6 separate regions of the Homo sapiens genome follow, and regions 1, 2, 3, 4 and 6 are each linked to region 5. The links are contacts of gene promoters, found by promoter capture Hi-C in blood cells and fetal thymus (Javierre and others, 2016). All regions are on one chromosome and are shown on one strand. The core of a region is centred on a gene start or on the middle of the fragment in contact, and the rest is flanking DNA. Distances in the headings are between cores, read along the strand shown.

Region 1 (2,700 bases), core at 84-2,583, 530 kb before region 5:
GCATCTCTTAACAAAAAGGGCACACTTAAGCACAATACCATTATTATGTATAAGAAAACTAACAGTAATCCATAGTATCATTTAACATTCGGTCCATATTCAGATTTCTTCAGTTGTCCCAAGAATTTCTGTTATACCTTTTTTTAAACCAAAATCCAATCTGGGTTCATATAGTATTTGGTGAGGTCTCTGAAGTCTCTATTGGAGTAGTACAGTTCCTACTTTCTTTAGTGACATTGACTTTTTTAAGAGTCCAGTACAAATGTCCAGTCAAGGGTCAACCATTTCCTAAATTTTTCTGGTTGTTTCCTTCTTGTTTTTTTTTTTTTTAAACTTATCCCATTTATACTCTCTCCTTCCACCTTCATGTAAACAGGAACCTACCCTTATTTTTAGTCAGAGTCAGTGAAGATATTAGAATATCTTTGCCATTAATATGAAAAACTGCAAAGCCATTAATATGAAAAACTTTGCAGTTTTTCATATTCTGGGATTGGCCAGAAGAGGCTCAACCCTCATAAAGTTTTTATTTTATGTAAAGTATACTATCAGGTAATTTTACCATGTTTGCCCATGAACAGAAAGGAACCAAAATCATTAGAGGAATGAATGGCTCTTTGGGAAGCCTTTTTCCTTCTTTTTGTGCACAAGTGATTGAGGGTTAAAATAATAGAACCCTGATCATTTTTAATTACAGAATTTCTGAGTTTTTATTAAATTGTATGTGTGTGGACATCATTTTTCTTTTAAAGCTTTTATTTTGTAGGATTTAGGGTTCTTTTCACAGTCTGTTGCATTTCAGTGTTATTAAATTCCTGTATCTCATTGATGAGGAAATTATCTATACAGGTTGATTATCCATTATCCAAAATGCTTGGGACCAAAAGTGTTTCAGATTTCAATCTTTTTCAGATTTTCAAATATATGCATTATATACTTACCAGTTCAGCTTCCCTAATCTGGAAATCGGAAATCTGAAATGCTTCAATGAGCATTTCCTTTGATCATCATGACAGTACTCAAAAAGTTTCGAGTTTTGGAGCATTTTGGATTTCTGGATTGGGAATACTCAACCTGCATTACTGTGGAGCAGTAAACAAGAAATCTAAAAACAATTAGTATCCCATCTTTAATACCTTCTCACTCTGTTGTGACTTGATTTTGACCTTCTGAAATGATTCCTCAGGTATAGTATTCATGTTTTTTTTCCCCAAGACCCAATATCGTATTTCAAATCTCATGAGATGATGCTGTTAATAATGGTACCTGCCCTCTGTTGTATTATTTGCTCTAAAATTTTGGTAAAGCCAGAAACGAGTTCAATGTATGTGTTGTCTCTCTATGTACTGTTTTAGAAAGATCCTTATGCACTGTTTTAGAAAGATCCTTATGCCACACCATCTTCCCACCAAATGCAGAATGAAATAACTGACATAATTATTTTTCATCCTTCCAGCCCTTTTCATAATAGTGACTTTGCCACTCCTAGAATAGTTGAGATTAGCACAAGTGGGAAACGGATGAAAATCTACCATTTGTAATCATCTTTATTGTTTTTCAGAATTAAGATAGATTTTTCTGTTATATTAACTAGAATATTAAGTAGCAAATAATCCTCAATATTGATTCATTACACACTGGATACAAAGTATTATGGAGTTTATGTGAGTTCCCATAATTTAGTGGTGATGAAAGTATATTTGCACATAAAATATGGCTAAACTTTAAGTCATGGTTAATAGGGAGTTTGGTTAAAGATAATCTGAACATTAACCACCTTTACTGGCTAATGTCTGGTGTGCTTGGTAAGTCAGTATTTTGGAAAGTCGTTTAAAGTGACTGCTATGAAGGTTGTAGTTTGTATTAACAATAGGTTCCTTTCCTATGTTGTTTATTCAAGCCCTTATATGCTATAAAAGCTTATTGACTGACCAGCTAATCCCTATAGAAATCAGAATCAGCCTGTTTTCATTTTAATGAATATTTGATACATGTAACATTAACATGACTGAGAAATAAGTTTAGCACATAAGAATAAAGTGAACTAGGAAGGTGATTTGGAGTTAGTTATAGAAGTATTTTCAGTCAAGTCCAAGTACTTAAGAAACACTTATTAATATAGTGGGTGAGCAGGCTCTTCCAGGCTTAGAGGACATCTTGAATAAAGGGTAGAAGGTGAAAGTGAAAAGACCATGTATGAAAAACTGTAAGATTTCCCTGGGACAAGTGAAGATCAAGGATAAGAATGTATGAAGCTGGTTAGGGAGAATGGGGCAGGTGGTAGAGAGTCTTGAAGTCAATAGATAAGTTTATGCATGAGCCAGAGGGTATCTAGAACCATCAGAAGGGTTTGCTGATTAGTATGAGGTTGCAAATTGATATAGTTGGAAGAACATTCTGGTGTTACTTGTAGAATGGACTAATTGAAAGGAGACAAGACTTGAACTTGCCAGATGTGGCTAAGTTGTAAATACGGAGATGAAAAAAGTTGAGGGATGGGTAGAGAAACTATATTTGCTTGGGGACATATCTGTTGGGAGAACAATATCAAAAGTTTGAAATAACAGGAATAACTTGTTAATTTGTCCGTAGTGTTTTTTTCACTATGTTTTTACTTTGTCTTACTAATCTAACCATCCATTTCTTACTCTGTTAAGTATATGGCTTGTATTTCTTCTCTATTTCATATGAACTAATCCT
Region 2 (2,700 bases), core at 46-2,545, 510 kb before region 5:
TAGCTGTCATTTATCCCAGATACTAATACATTTAACATCACTTTTGCCTTTACGATAGCCTGATAAAGTACTACATTATCCCACTTTTTTTTTTTTTTTTTAAGACGGAGTCTAGCTCTGTCACCCAGGCTGGAGTGCGGTAGCATAATCTCGGCTCACTGCAACCTCCACCTCCCGTGTTCAAGCTATTCTCCTGCCTCAGCCTCCCGAGTAGCTGGGATTACAGGCACGTGCCACCACGCCTGGCTAAGTTTTGTATTTTTAGTAGTGACAGGGTTTCACCATCTTGGCCAGGCTGGTCTGAAACTCCTGACCTCGTGATCCACCCGCCTTGGCCTCCCAAAGTGCTGGGATTACAGGTGTGAGCCACCATGCCCGGCCATTAGCCCACTTTTATAGGTGAGAAAACTGAGGCTCAGAGAGACAGCATAACTTGGTACTCGGCTAGTGGCTGACCAGAAAATGACTTCTGAGCCCAAAATTTGTGCTCTTAAACACAGCCATTGTCTCCCCAGCTGGAGTGGGCATGAAGGTGAGGGTGCTTCTTAAAACCCCTATCCCTTCTAGCTACATCCCAAGATTTCATGTCAGCTAGATTGCCTGCTGGCAGGTCAAATTCAACTTCTCTTTGACCTTGACCAGCTTCTCCTGGCATCCTCCTCTCTCCCATCACCCAGGCCTAAGCTTTTGGTTATTTTTGGCCCCTGCCCCACTTTCTAATCAGTTACCAATTGCAATTCAACAAATATTTATCCAGCACCTGCCAAGTGCAGGCTACCATGCAGGGTTCTGAAGGAAACCAAAATGGGTGAGACTGGTCGTTACAAGACAAGACAGACATAATATTTTTGTTTGTTTTGTTTTATTTGACACGGAGTCTCACTCTGTTGCCCAGGCTGGAGTGCAGTGGCGCGATCTTGGCTCACTGCAACCTGCACCTCCTGTGTTCAAGCGATTCTCCTGTCTCAGCCTCCCTAGTAGCTGGGACTACAGGCGCGTGCCACCACACCCAGCTAATTTATTTGTATTTTTATTTTTAGTAGAGACGGGCTTTCACCATGTTGGCCAGGCTGGTCTTGAACTCCTGATCTCAGGTGATCAGCCTGCCTTGGCCTCCCAAAGTGTTGGGATTACAGGTGTGAGCCACTGCACCTGGCCAATATTTTTTTAAAAGAAGGAAAAAAAGGAAAGATGGATGAAAGAAGGGCAGGAAGGAAGAAAAGAGGGAGGAAGATGAGAAAAAGGGAAGAAAGCAAGAAAGAAGAAGGAGGGAGGAAGGAAGGACCTCCACGGAAAAGGGGCCGAGATCAGCTCAACCGCAGTCTCTAGCTGGCCCCTCCTTTCCACTGCGCATTTCCCAGCCCCTCCAACTCCTGCCCCACCCCCCCACCAATAAAATTCAAACACTCATTGCCTCATGTAAGGAGTTAAATCGCCTGATGTATTTAACTCCTTTCTAACTAATTTCTCAGTTGCCAGTTTCTCTCCCTGTACACATCACTGCACTGTTTTGATGTCTCTCCCCTATTCCAGACCCCTGCTGGCCCCCCAGCCCACTTGCCACAGAAGTTCCAATCCTTCTGCCTGGCATGCAAAGCTCTCCTTAGTCTCTTCCACCCACCTCTCAGGCTGAGTCTCCCACTCGACCTTCTCATGCCGTTCCCTTCCCTAAACTCATGCGCACTCTCTGCTTTGGCTCGGTGGTCTGTACCAGCCACCTGGAACCCTCCAGCCCCCACCTCTCCACCTGCCCAAACCCCATCAAACCCAAATGTCACCTCTTCCAGGAAGCCTTTTCCCACAACCCCTGCCCACCACCCCCCTCCCCCGAACTCCTAGAACCTGCCCTCTGTACCACTATTTTAACACACTACATACCAAAGGATGTTGTTGCCCCTTTGGGACTGGAAGCTTCAGGAGAGTGGGAACCAAGCTGGGCGTATTTTAGTTTCCCCACAATGCCTTGCAGAGAGTAAGTGTTCAATGATGTTTGGCTAATAAATAAAGATTGTCTGTTAAAGCATAAGTGTATCCAATAAGTGTTCCTGAAATGTATATACATTTAATTATTCATTCTGAGCTCTATTAACTTTAGAGGAGTTCATGTGGTAGGGGGGGACTTACTGAATTATATTAATGTAATCCAAGAAGATAATAGTTTTTAGCAACCACACAGTACTGTTATTTTCTATTGTTTTGTAGGCAACAAAATCAGCCTTGTTAAATTTGCTTTTTAAAATTGATTCTCAAAGTTTATTAAAAAATTAGAACTAGAACTACCATATGGTTCAGCAATCCCACTTCTAGAGATATATCCAAAAGAATTGAAAGCAGGGTCTCAAAGCTATATTTGCACACCCATGTTCCTAGCAGCATTATTCACAATAGCCAAAAGATGGAAGCACCCCAAATGTCCATGGATAGAAAAACAAAATGTGTTAGTTCTCTACATACAATGGAATATGATTCAGCCTTAAAAAGGAAGGAATTCTGACACATGCTGCTACATGGATCAACCTTGAGGACATTATGCTAAACGAAATAAGCCAGTCCCAAAAAGCACTGTATGATTCTACTTCTATGAGGTCCCTAGAATAGTCAAATCCATAGAGAAAAGAAGCATGGTGTTACCAGGGGCTGGGGATTGGGGAAATGGGCAGTTGTTTGATGGGTATACAGTTTCAGCTTTGCAAGATGAAA
Region 3 (2,700 bases), core at 61-2,560, 570 kb before region 5:
CCTGGGCTCAAGTGATCCTACCACCTCGGCCTCCCAAAGTGCTGGGATTACAGGCATGAGCCACTGTGCAGGCCAGTTTGTCTTTTAACTTGTTTATATTGTCTTAAAGTACATACATTTTGAAATTTCATGTAGCTAAATGTCTTATTCTCATTCCATATTCCAAGCTCATACTCAATTTTTTTTTCTGAAAGTTATAAAGTTTTGCTTTTCACATTTAGATCTTTAATCCACCTGGAACTGATTTTTCTTCCATGGTTTGAGGTAGGGGTCTAATTTTTATAATTTTCCATATGGATAAGCAGTAGTCCTAGTACCACTTAGTGGATAATCCATTCTTTCCCCACTGATTTGAAATGTCCCACACGCTGCATATCAACCTTCCGTATATGTGTGGTCTGTTTGAGGGGTTTATATTGTGTTTCATTGATTGTCTATCTCCACAGCATACTTTTAATTACTACAGATTTACAGTCACTCTTGATATCTAGTGTATTATAGATTCTGGAGCAAATGAATAACACGATCGAAAAATTACTTTGGGAAAAATATTTTTATGGCTGTCAACAGAGTAAACATGTCAAAGGAAAGAGTAAACCCAACAGGATTTATTTAAAGAAAAGTGCAATAACCCAGATAGGCTATCACAAGGGCTTACAATAAAGTTATGGCAGTGTGAATGGAGAGAAAATAAGGAATCTAAAAGTAATTCCACGTAAAATATTAACAGGGTGTGTTGACTGATTGGATATAGAGATGAGGAGGGGGAAGACGATATATGGCTTTCCAGTGAAATGATAATGAGTTAGTTTTGTGACGCAGTGATGTGTTAACAATGGACTCTATTAGGTAAGAGGTCTGGGCCAGGGATATATATTTGGACATTGTCTAGTTAGAGGTGAACTGGAGGGGACGCAGAGGAGGAGCAAAGGTCTGGGCTTTGGGGAATTCTCCGATTTAGGGCGTGGAAGAAAGAAGAGGAAAGGAAATGGTAGGATAACCAACACGGGACATTATAACCTTAAGAAATATATATATATATATATATGTATTTTTTTACTGAATGATGTGGGTCGTATTGACACAACAGGTTTGAGATCTCCCATAGGTATGACTGTGTTTTGTTTCTGTGGCCTTCAAAGTCCTCAGAACAATTTTGATGTCACAGGTGGCATTTAAAACCCATTCCTTGCTGGACCTGGTAGAGACGCCCCCAGTCCGTCAGGTCTCTCGCTGCAGTTCCGCAGTTTGACCGCAGGGGACGGAATCTGCGGCGGCCTGGAAAACTGGCGGGGGCGCGAGGCGCCGCTCTCTCTTGGGTCAGATTCTCAGCTCCCAGCTCCCCGCTCCCGGCTCCCGGCGCCCGGCGCCCGGCGCGGAGCTGTTCCTCAAACGACACGCAGCCGAGGTGGGTGGGTGTGGGGACGCGGGAGCCAGTGTCGTCGGATCGGCCCGCAGTCCGCTGTCCTGCTGAGCCCGGAGGCCGCCTGGATGGAGCCGCCGCTCCCGGTCGGAGCCCAGCCGCTTGCCGTATCCGCCGGAGAGAAGGGAGAGGGGAGGCCGCGCAGGGCCGGGGGTGGGGGTCGGGGGCCCTGCGGAACACGGTGGGGCGGGGCAACCGGGTGGCCCAGAGGCCGAGCAGAGAGGGGGAGGGGGCCGGCGCGGGAGACGAAGCAGGGCGGGGCGGGGCGGGGGAGGGCGGCGGTGGGGGGGGGGTGGAAGACCCCCTTCGCCCCGCAGTGCACCACTCCTCCCCACCGCGCTTCCGAAGGAGACCCTTGACTAGCGCCCGCATACTGTCGAGGGTATGGAGATGAAGGGTCCTCTCCGGGAGCCCTGCGCCCTGACCCTAGCCCAGAGGAACGGGCAATATGAGTAAGTAACCACCTGATTCCCACAGAGGAGGGGAGCCTGCCATTACCTCCCAACCCCAAACCGCGACGGGTCACCCACTGTCCTCCTACTGAAGCCACGCGGGCAACAGGTTCAGGTCCAGGTGTGAAGTGCCAGTGCTCTCTAACCTCGGGGCTTTGTCCCCAACTTCCAAGCCTCTGGATTGTGCTTGGCAGTGTGGCTCAGTGGAAGGACTGAATGGGCGGGGAAGCAGGAAGCCTGGGTTCTTAGTTCCTGCCCCTGCAACTGACATGTGTTGTGTAACGTTGGGCAAGTCAATAAAGCTTTCTGGGCCAAAGTTAACTCTTCAGTTTAATAAAACCATTAACTGCCTTACCTTACAGCCTTTGGAATTATAACTGGGGGAAAAATAAATGCGAGAGTGGCTTCCAAAAAGTAAAAGTGCTATGGAAATGCTTCATTGTTAACGTTACAGACTTGTCTTAACCCTATTCAGCTGGTTTCTCCAGTCTCCCCGTCCCCTTATCCCACTGGGTTGAAGGCATATTCATTAATTCAGTAATGGTTTAGTGTAGGCCAGAAACTGCCTCACTTACTGACTTTACTGTTAGAAAGAAAAGGTAATGAAATGTGTAGAGATAGAAATGACAGTATTTTATCAGTGTGTCACCTTCCTCTCTGCCATAGGAGCTCCGTAAATACTGTTGACTGATTGATCAAAAGATTATTTTGATAAGCTATCACCATAGCTGCTAACCTCACTCTATTGTCACTAATATCTTATCTCAAAAATATCCATGGTGACCATTACGTATCATAGGCCCCTATCCCTGTGTGCCCAAGACA
Region 4 (2,700 bases), core at 198-2,697, 800 kb after region 5:
TCACTTTATCCCATACCTGGCAACATCTGCCAAGGCCAGGGAATGGGAACACTGAATGCTTTTGCAGTAAAACTTCATATCATAAAATAAATAATGATGAGTTGAATTAGTATGACAGAGGAGGAAGTGCTAAGAAAAATATCTTCATGTTTTTCCTCCATCGTAGGTTCAGATCCAAAAACATATTCTCCCATACCATATTGACAAACTCTCCAAGGTTCTCCACCTAAAGACCCATTTGTAATCCAGCTGAAAACAGACAGGGGTTGGATGCTAACCTCAAAACCTGATTACTGCTGCTGCTGCTACTACTACTACTACTACTACTACTACTACTACTATTACTTGTACTACTATACTAACATTGAGTACAACTTGCCAACTTCTTGTTCTAGAGCTTAGAATCCAAGCTCTTTCAATATATTGGCTCGTGTAATCGTCATAACAATCTTATGAAATGGATACTATTATAATTACCATCGAAATTTTACAAATGAAAAAAACGGAAGCAAGAGAGATGAAGTCATGTATTCAAATCCATACAGCTAAGAATTAGCCAGGCAAGGATTTTGATGTACCTCGTACTTCCTTTGCATCTTCACTTTATTTTGAAATTGACTTATGGCATAACCTAATGGACTTATAGACAGGGGGAGAAGTATGATGGGCTATGGGTCTGGGGAGCCAATCACCCATCCTCACCTGCCAGGATCCAATGAGGCTAAGGTGTTTTCATACACATTTTTTTCTATGGAGTCTGGAATGTGGAATTCATTATGCAAATTTCTTGATGTGATGATTTGGCTGGAAAAGCAGGTACTATGGAAAAGTTCCCCCACTTATCTCTAAGGACTACTCTGATGTAAAATATTATGTGTTGATGAGTATGTTTTTTATTTGCATGCATGGGCATACATTTACATGCATGATTCTGTGTCAGTCAGCATGTATGTGTTAAGTATAGTACATTGGTTCTCAAGCTTTAGTCTAATCTCAGATACCTGGGTAAAATCACAAATACTCCTGGGTCCTATGCTCAGAGATTCTGATTCAGTTCAGTTGGGGTGGGACACAACAGCTTGTTACTTGCACCTGAAGTGATTCTAATACAGGTGGTCTGTGCAGACTACATTTTAAGAACAATGGGATCATGCTTTAGAGTAGGCTCTGGAGCCAGGCTGCTAGTGAGTGGTTTAATTTTAGGTTTAAGCAAGTCAACTGGGCTCTGTTAATATCAGTTTACTCATTTTTGAAAATGAATAATAATATACCTACTTCATGAGGTTGCTGTGAGGATTAAATGACATACACTTATTTAAAGGGTATCTCATTTGATGTGCCTAACCCATCATAAGTGATCAGTGAATAGTAGCTACACTATTCACATAGACCACAAGGATAATGGCAAACATAATGGTGCTCCCCATTCCTACCCCCGTCCCAGAATTATGCAGTGCAGATGCCCTGAGGGCATGCTAGGGAATAGTGAAGTGGTGTGAAGAGGCCAACTCCTGAGGGGCTGCAAGGACCAGGAATTTTGGTTGTAACCCACAGCCTCACTCCTTGAAAAGGATTTAAAGAACATAGAAAGCAAAATGGTGAAAGGGTTTGCAGATGGTAGGTTTGGGAGTGCTCAGCCCACTTCAGGTCTTTAGGGCAACTGGTCCTGCACCACTGTGTTCACAATCTGGCCCCCAGCTGGCATTTAGGACTGGAAGAACAATGGACCCTGTATTCAGGGAAAACTTGAGGCGGAGTGCTGCTCATTGGTCTTCTACCATTAAGATGCTATATAAAGAGAAATACTAATCAAGTAGAAATCATGGTGCCTGACCTCAAGGAGCCTAGAGTCTTTGGAAGAAACAAACATGCCAGCATTGTTACTTTAAGCAATTCCCATCCACTCTCTGGGTTGAAGCTTTGTCTGTAAAATGATGGTTTGTACTTAAAACTTTGAACATGTTACATTTCTCATCCTTCTAGAAATAAACAAGCATTAAGTCACAGAAAGGAGTGCATGATGATGACACAGTGTGGTAGAGTGAGGCAATATCACTCCAGCCAGCTTGCAAAGCTGCTGTAGAGTGCAATGGCTAGAGCTACTGCCAGGAAGGAAGAGGGGTAATGGGATTGGGTCAAAGGCCTTAGCTCTCTTGTTGGTGCCAAAAATTGCTCACTTTGATACCTACCTTGAGCCAGATATACAACAGATATGCCACATGTTGGCTCTTGCTGATACTCCTCTAGCCCCCTTGCTGCTCACTGATTTTAGCTGAAAGTGGGGATTAATTGACAAGGACATCTTGGAGGAGGATGTCACAGATCCTGTAGTGTGCCAGAATGAATTCAGGATTAAGTAGGAAACTGGAGACTGAAGTGACTGAGAGCCAGGACAGGGTTAGCCTCCTAAAACACCCTGTCTGGAGGGCTTCACTGTGGCTAAGGGCTGCTAATATGAGAAGTGTATACTACAGCTATAAAATTAAAGATAGCACTTACTACATGCTAGGTGCTGTTCCAAGCGCTTTACAAGGAATAACTCTTTTTTGCCTTATTATAACCTTATTATGATAGCAATTATTATTATTTTCTTTTAAAGTTGTGGAAACTGAAGCGTATTAAGCACTCTCCAGCCACCAATTTTTCTCAGAGGTTTTTGTTTTGTTTGTTTGTTTGTTTGAGACAGAGTCTCACTCTGTT
Region 5 (2,700 bases), core at 170-2,669:
TGTGTTCCCCGGGCATTTTCAGTGCCAAAGTCTCCCCAAAGGGAAGAGCTAGAACTGTTCCCTTCACCCACCTCCAACCTGGCACTCGGGCCAGGGGTCAGCTGGCAGGGGGTGAGTCCCCAATGGGCGTGCCCACCAGCTGTTGGGGCTGAGCAGTGGTGGTTCAGGCCCTGGGGTGGTGACCTCACTTCCGCTCCTACCTCCCCACCTCCCCAGCACTCCTCCCATTTGAGGCCCCACCAGGCCAAAATCGAGAAGTCCAAGGTTAACTGTTCTTTCCCACTTTAAGAGCTAATTAAAATAATTAGCCACAATGAACTGTCAAACATTAACCAGAAGAGGCTGCAGGACCAGACAGGCCTCTATCACAGGCCGAGGGATGAGGGGCAGGAATCAAATGGCCATCAAATCCCTCAGCTGGGGTATGGTGCGGGGCGGGGGCGGCCCAGGAGGACCTCGCTGAGCCGAGGTGCCAAGGGGTCAGGAGGTGACTCTGGTCAGGAAGGTGATGTGCAGGCATACGGTGGTGAGAAAAGGGAGTCAGGGTTAGGGTGCGGTGGAGGAGCCAGGAATTCATAAAGCGGTCACCGCCTCAGCAGTCCCTCAAGCCTCCAAAGCAAGGCGCTGGCGTGAGGGGACCCCGCACGGTGCGGCTGCTGAATCCCCTAGGCGGCGGCCCAGGAGGGAACCCGGAGGCGGGAGAGTCGGGGAGAGCGGGAACGCGGGAGCGGGAAGGCTGGCGGCTGGCTCACACGGAAACTCCGGCCCCTGCCAAGAGGTCTCTATTTTGGCGATCCAGTTCTCCACATCATAGGTCTGCGTGCGCGTGTGTGCGTGTGACCCTAAAGCCCTGGCCCCAGAAGCCCCGGGGGCAGTCGGATCCATCTAGCAGCTCCGCCGCGGTCCGCCCCACCTCCTCTGCCCTCGGGCGCCCAGCTTCTGGGGGCCCGCTGTCATGATCGGCCCCGTCACGGAACCCAGGCTGCCGGGGGCGAGGGAAAACAGGGGCCCCTACCCCGACTCCCCGACTCGGGGAATCCATTCCACTTCCATCCCGGGATCGGGAGCCCGGGTTCTCCATCACACGCGCGGCGGGGCGACTCCAGGGCGGCTCGCGACACTCCGCGACTCTCCCGCCCTTCCCTGGGCCCCCAGCCCCACGCCGGGGCCCCGGCGCTCTCGATTCCGCCCTCAAGCAAACTTTTCCACGTCCCCCAAGGCTCGAAGAACCGGCGCCATCGACGTACCTGAGGCCGAGTGGCTCACGGGCCCAGCTCGGTCGCCGGGCCGGGGTCTGTCTCCGTGGTCCCCGCTCCGGGGGCCGAGACGCGGGTCCCCAGCCCCGCCAGCCCGTCCTCTCCCCTCGGAAGCCGGGCCGGGCGAGCGGCGCCAGGAACTCGGCGCCGGCGAAAGGAGAAGTGGAAGTTGAGCGCGGCGCCCGGTCGGTCCCCGCGGCCGCCGGGGCCGCCGTCCCCCGCCCTCCTCCCCGCCCGCCCTTCTTCCCCGCCCGCCTGCCCCCGCCACCCCGCGCCCGTGACTCACCTCGGCGCCGGGGCAGGCTGGTCCGGGCGGGCGAGGCGCAGGGCTCTCCCACACTTCGCGCCGCCAATGGCAAGTTGGAGGGAGAGATGCAAATACCAGGTGAGACGGCGGCGCCCCTGATAAAACGGGGCGGGGGGCGGGGTGGAGCGCGCGGGGAGCGGGGCGGACGCCGGGGAGGGCCGGGCCAAGACACGGGGCGGCAGGGGCGCCCGGGGAGGGGGCGCGAACCGGCGCAGACATGCACCGAAACGAGCGAGCGAAAGGGGAAATGCAGTAGAGACACACACGTCCCCGCAGGCGGCGGATGGGGCGGGCGCGAAGGAGGCAGGGCGGGAGGGAGGGAAGAGCCGGAGGGAGGGACCGACGGGAGGGACTGCGGGCGGGCGGGGTGGGGGAGGGAACGAGGGAGGGACGAGGCATCTCGGTGGAAACAGCGCCCGTCCGCCCCGGCCCGCCCGCCGCGGTCGCCAGCACGGCATGGGGAGCCGTGCCAGGGGCCCGCGCGGCCTCTCATTCCCCTCGCGGCTCGCTCGCGCCCGGGGGACCACGAGGCAGGGCGCCCGCAGAGCCCGCGTCGTGCGCCGCGGCCCGGGCGGGCGCTCCCCACTCTGCTTCTAGCCAGCGAGACTCCGAGCTCTCTGCTCGTTCCGCGCCCTTCCCGGTGCGAAGCCCCCATACAACGCCCCGCAGAGAAATCCCTTCCCCGCGGACTCGGGAAGGTTTCGTCCAGCCCCCTCGGCCCGTGCAAGTGGAGACTTGCTTGACGCCTTTGGGCCAAGCCCTGCGCTCCACATTATTGAGCTCCTGGGGTGTGCAGGCCCCAGCGGGAGGGCGGGCCGTGCGGCGGGTGAGGCCGCGAGATGCCCAGAGGATACAATTTTGGAACCATATGCCCGACTCCGCAGAATCCTGGGCGTAACACCTGGGGTGACTGGAGAGTTTCGGCGACTTCTTAGGGAAGTCGAGTCTAGGACTCCTGCGGGAAGTTGGGGTGGGGGACGCTGGCAAGATATGAGTCAGGGGAAGGGCTAGGGGGAGAGGGGCTGGCCCAGCAAGTGCAAAGAGAGCCAGAGTTCGGGTGCTGGAAGAAAGCCCATGCCTACCTTTCTTCCCCTGTCCAAAGCCAGGCTGCTCTGCTCCACGCGCCCACTTGAAAGC
Region 6 (2,700 bases), core at 201-2,700, 550 kb before region 5:
ATCGGGAACCCCCACCTCCACCCTTTTCAGTGAATAAAATGTAAGTCCCATGTGAAAACATATTTGCCTTGTAGGAGAATTATAGTTTAAACAATTTTACTTTTGAATCTCTCATTTATTTGCTAGGCTTCCACGTGAAAAAGAAGCTTCTAACAAGGAGCAGCCCAAAGTGACCAACACCATGCGGAAGCTCTTTGTACCAAATACCCAATCTGGGCAGCGGGAGGGTCTCATCAAACATATCCTGGCAAAGCGAGAGAAAGAATATGTCAACATTCAGACTTTCAGGTTAGTGTCTCTTTTGCTTCCTGAGTCTAAAAAGTTAGTATATATAACAGACAGTGGCCTGTTGATATTTAAGACATTAGCCTAATTAAGAATCAAAATATGATAAAAAGGAATGGTTGCCTGTTTCAAGCTCCTGTCTCTATGCTGGCCAATAACATGCATATCAGAAATAATGCAGATGCTACAGTTTCCCTTGGATTTTCTTTTTTTGTGTGTGTGGGTCAGGGTCTCTCTTTGTCACCCAGGCTGGAGAGCAGATAGATCATGGCTTACTGTAGCCTCAACCTCTCAGTCGTAAGCAATCCTCCCACGCCAGCCCTGCAAGTAGGTGGAACTACAGGTGCACACCACCACATCCAGCTAATATTTGTGTTTTTTATAGAGACTGGGTTTCACCAGGTTGCCCAGGCTGGTCTCAAATTCCTGAGCTCAGGCAATCCACCCGCCTTGGCCTCACAAAGTGTTAGGATTACAGGCTTGAGCCACCGTGCTTGGCCTTCCCTTGGATTTTCTAACTACTAATAATGCCATGTCTACTAATGTCTCTACTGAGTCCTAGAGAACCAAATCAAGGTCACATGTACTAGAGAATTTTCCCCTAGCACATTCCATAAGCAAGCGTGTTTATATATCTGGCCTGTTAAGTTTTTTTTTTTCAGCCAATATTAGAAAATTAAAGTCCATCATTACCACTAGCTCTTAACTTACTTACTTTGGTAAATAAAGAAAGTTTCACCCAGTCCTCTTGATTGGGAGGTCTATCTTGGGTTCTTTTATCTGTATTATTTTTTATTTCATCTTTTTTCTGGACTTGTGTGTGTATGCTGCATGTGAGGTACCATGTGGCATGTATCGCCAATGCATGAAGCAACACCACATTTCTTTGTTATTCATGAGCAGAATGTACCCTTCTAGTCCAAGATTCTAGTCCCATCTGCTATCCTGTCATACCTCATTTATTCTAATTCAGTCATAACTATATCCCTATGCTAAAACTTGCAGTTCCTCATATCCCCCACTATGCTTATATTTGTGTGTAAACAGTTAAGACAGTCATGAGTTTTCCCTTCTGCTTTCCCCCTTAATACTATGTCTGCCTCATCAGAATTTCCTACACAGATGTCCTTGTAATCCTTCAGGAAGTGAGTTCCTGGAGTCAACTATAGCCCCTTATAGAACATTTATCCATATTTGACTAGCTTACAGCATGAAGATACCTCTTTCCCATCCATAAGCTCTCCTATCAAGTATGAGTTTGGATGGAGCTTAATTGAAAGGAAATGTGGTATAGCAATTACCTTTGCATTTTTTAAAAATAAAGACTTGGTTTCCTTCTGTAGTTTTACTTAATGTAAAATTTAGAGAAAATAAGCCCACTGCCTTTGTGTTCTAGATGCAAAAGATCTTTCTTACATATGTGGCAAAACATTTTGAGGAATTATGTTAGCATATTGTGAACATACCTTTGTATGGAAGCGAAAAGAAAGAACTTCTGTTGGTTTATACTTGATCTTTGTTTTCAAATTATCTTTTCGTATTATGTATTAGATTTTTTGTTGGAACTTGGAATGTGAATGGCCAGTCTCCAGATAGCGGGTTAGAACCTTGGCTGAACTGTGATCCCAATCCTCCTGATATCTACTGCATTGGGTAAAGAACACTTCTGGAATTTCCTTTTGGCTATATGTTTGGTGTTCATTTACATGATGTTTTGCCTTTTTTAAAAAAGACTGTTGGTAAAACCTACTGTAGACTATACACGAGAGTTAACTTGCGGGTCAAATTTGTGAGAACAGAAATGAACAGATACCTAAAATGGTGTAAGGAAGCATCTAATTTTCTTGAAACCCGTAGGAATCTATATATTCTGCATAGAAACTAAGACTTGGGGTCAGTTCTAACAGTGACAGTTCCTAGGATATAAGAGCAAAGCTCTGCTGTTATCCTCTGTGGGAGGTATTTTGATTTATTTTTTGCATAGCTTATGAATGTACTTGTGGGAATTCTTTAGAAAAGAAAGCTACTTGTTCTTACTGATAACCTGGGTGAACAGAGCAGTTCTATAAAATTTATCTCTCTCCCATCTTTTTTTCATCTAATGTTTCAACATATGGGACAGGAGGTAGCCAGAGATAATTATGGGATATGTATAGATCTCATATCCCTTTTTTCCTCAGATTCCAAGAACTGGACTTGAGCACAGAAGCCTTCTTCTACTTTGAATCTGTGAAGGAACAAGAATGGTCCATGGCTGTAGAGAGAGGTTTGCATTCCAAAGCCAAGTATAAGAAAGTAAGCCGCATTTAATTATCTTTTTAAGTGTATGACTAAATAGGGCTCACCGGGAGTTATTCCATTATCTACAACTTGTTCCAAAAGAATAGTTTAATTGAATTCTTCTCTGTGTGTAAT

The links. The method cuts DNA at HindIII sites, captures the fragments that hold promoters and counts their contacts. A CHiCAGO score of 5 or more calls a contact.
Region 1: a fragment that was not itself captured here is called in contact with the fragment with the promoter of ELF4 in region 5 in 9 of 17 cell types (M0 macrophages, total B cells, naive B cells and 6 more); the score reaches 12.4 in M0 macrophages.
Region 2: a fragment that was not itself captured here is called in contact with the fragment with the promoter of ELF4 in region 5 in 5 of 17 cell types (naive B cells, activated CD4 T cells, non-activated CD4 T cells and 2 more); the score reaches 6.8 in naive B cells.
Region 3: a contact is called between the fragment with the promoter of OCRL here and the fragment with the promoter of ELF4 in region 5, in 3 of 17 cell types (monocytes, activated CD4 T cells and total B cells). The highest score is 7.0, in monocytes.
Region 4: a contact is called between a fragment that was not itself captured here and the fragment with the promoter of ELF4 in region 5, in 1 of 17 cell types (fetal thymus). The highest score is 5.0, in fetal thymus.
Region 6: a fragment that was not itself captured here is called in contact with the fragment with the promoter of ELF4 in region 5 in 3 of 17 cell types (total B cells, M2 macrophages and naive B cells); the score reaches 7.8 in total B cells.

The regions. Positions count from the first base shown.
Region 1 is chrX:129,578,132-129,580,831 of GRCh38, forward strand. All of the region lies in intron 18 of OCRL (OCRL inositol polyphosphate-5-phosphatase), which reads left to right. Among named protein-coding and RNA genes, the nearest start is that of OCRL, 39 kb to the left of the region's middle. The HindIII fragment of the contact is 1,167 bases long and covers 751-1,917 here.
Region 2 is chrX:129,596,489-129,599,188 of GRCh38, forward strand. No RefSeq gene overlaps it. Among named protein-coding and RNA genes, the nearest start is that of APLN, 57 kb to the right of the region's middle. The HindIII fragment of the contact is 1,227 bases long and covers 683-1,909 here.
Region 3 is chrX:129,538,949-129,541,648 of GRCh38, forward strand. OCRL (OCRL inositol polyphosphate-5-phosphatase) reads left to right here and starts at 1,311. Exons shown (of 24, transcript NM_000276.4): 1 at 1,311-1,530; 2 at 1,796-1,875. The coding sequence starts at 1,492. RefSeq lists an enhancer at 1,144-1,438 and silencers at 1,155-1,214, 1,325-1,524. The HindIII fragment of the contact is 8,325 bases long and covers 1-2,175 here.
Region 4 is chrX:130,913,457-130,916,156 of GRCh38, forward strand. No RefSeq gene overlaps it. Among named protein-coding and RNA genes, the nearest start is that of ENOX2, 12 kb to the left of the region's middle. The HindIII fragment of the contact is 938 bases long and covers 979-1,916 here.
Region 5 is chrX:130,109,078-130,111,777 of GRCh38, forward strand. ELF4 (E74 like ETS transcription factor 4) reads right to left here and starts at 1,420. Exons shown (of 9, transcript NM_001421.4): 1 at 1,248-1,420. It also overlaps a transcript of RAB33A not described here. RefSeq lists silencers at 1,302-1,371, 1,452-1,601, 1,852-1,901, 1,912-1,961, 2,032-2,151. The HindIII fragment of the contact is 7,600 bases long and covers 1-2,700 here.
Region 6 is chrX:129,558,714-129,561,413 of GRCh38, forward strand. It overlaps OCRL (OCRL inositol polyphosphate-5-phosphatase), which reads left to right. Exons shown (of 24, transcript NM_000276.4): 7 at 1-40; 8 at 127-288; 9 at 1,837-1,938; 10 at 2,466-2,580. Among named protein-coding and RNA genes, the nearest start is that of OCRL, 20 kb to the left of the region's middle. The HindIII fragment of the contact is 2,612 bases long and covers 145-2,700 here.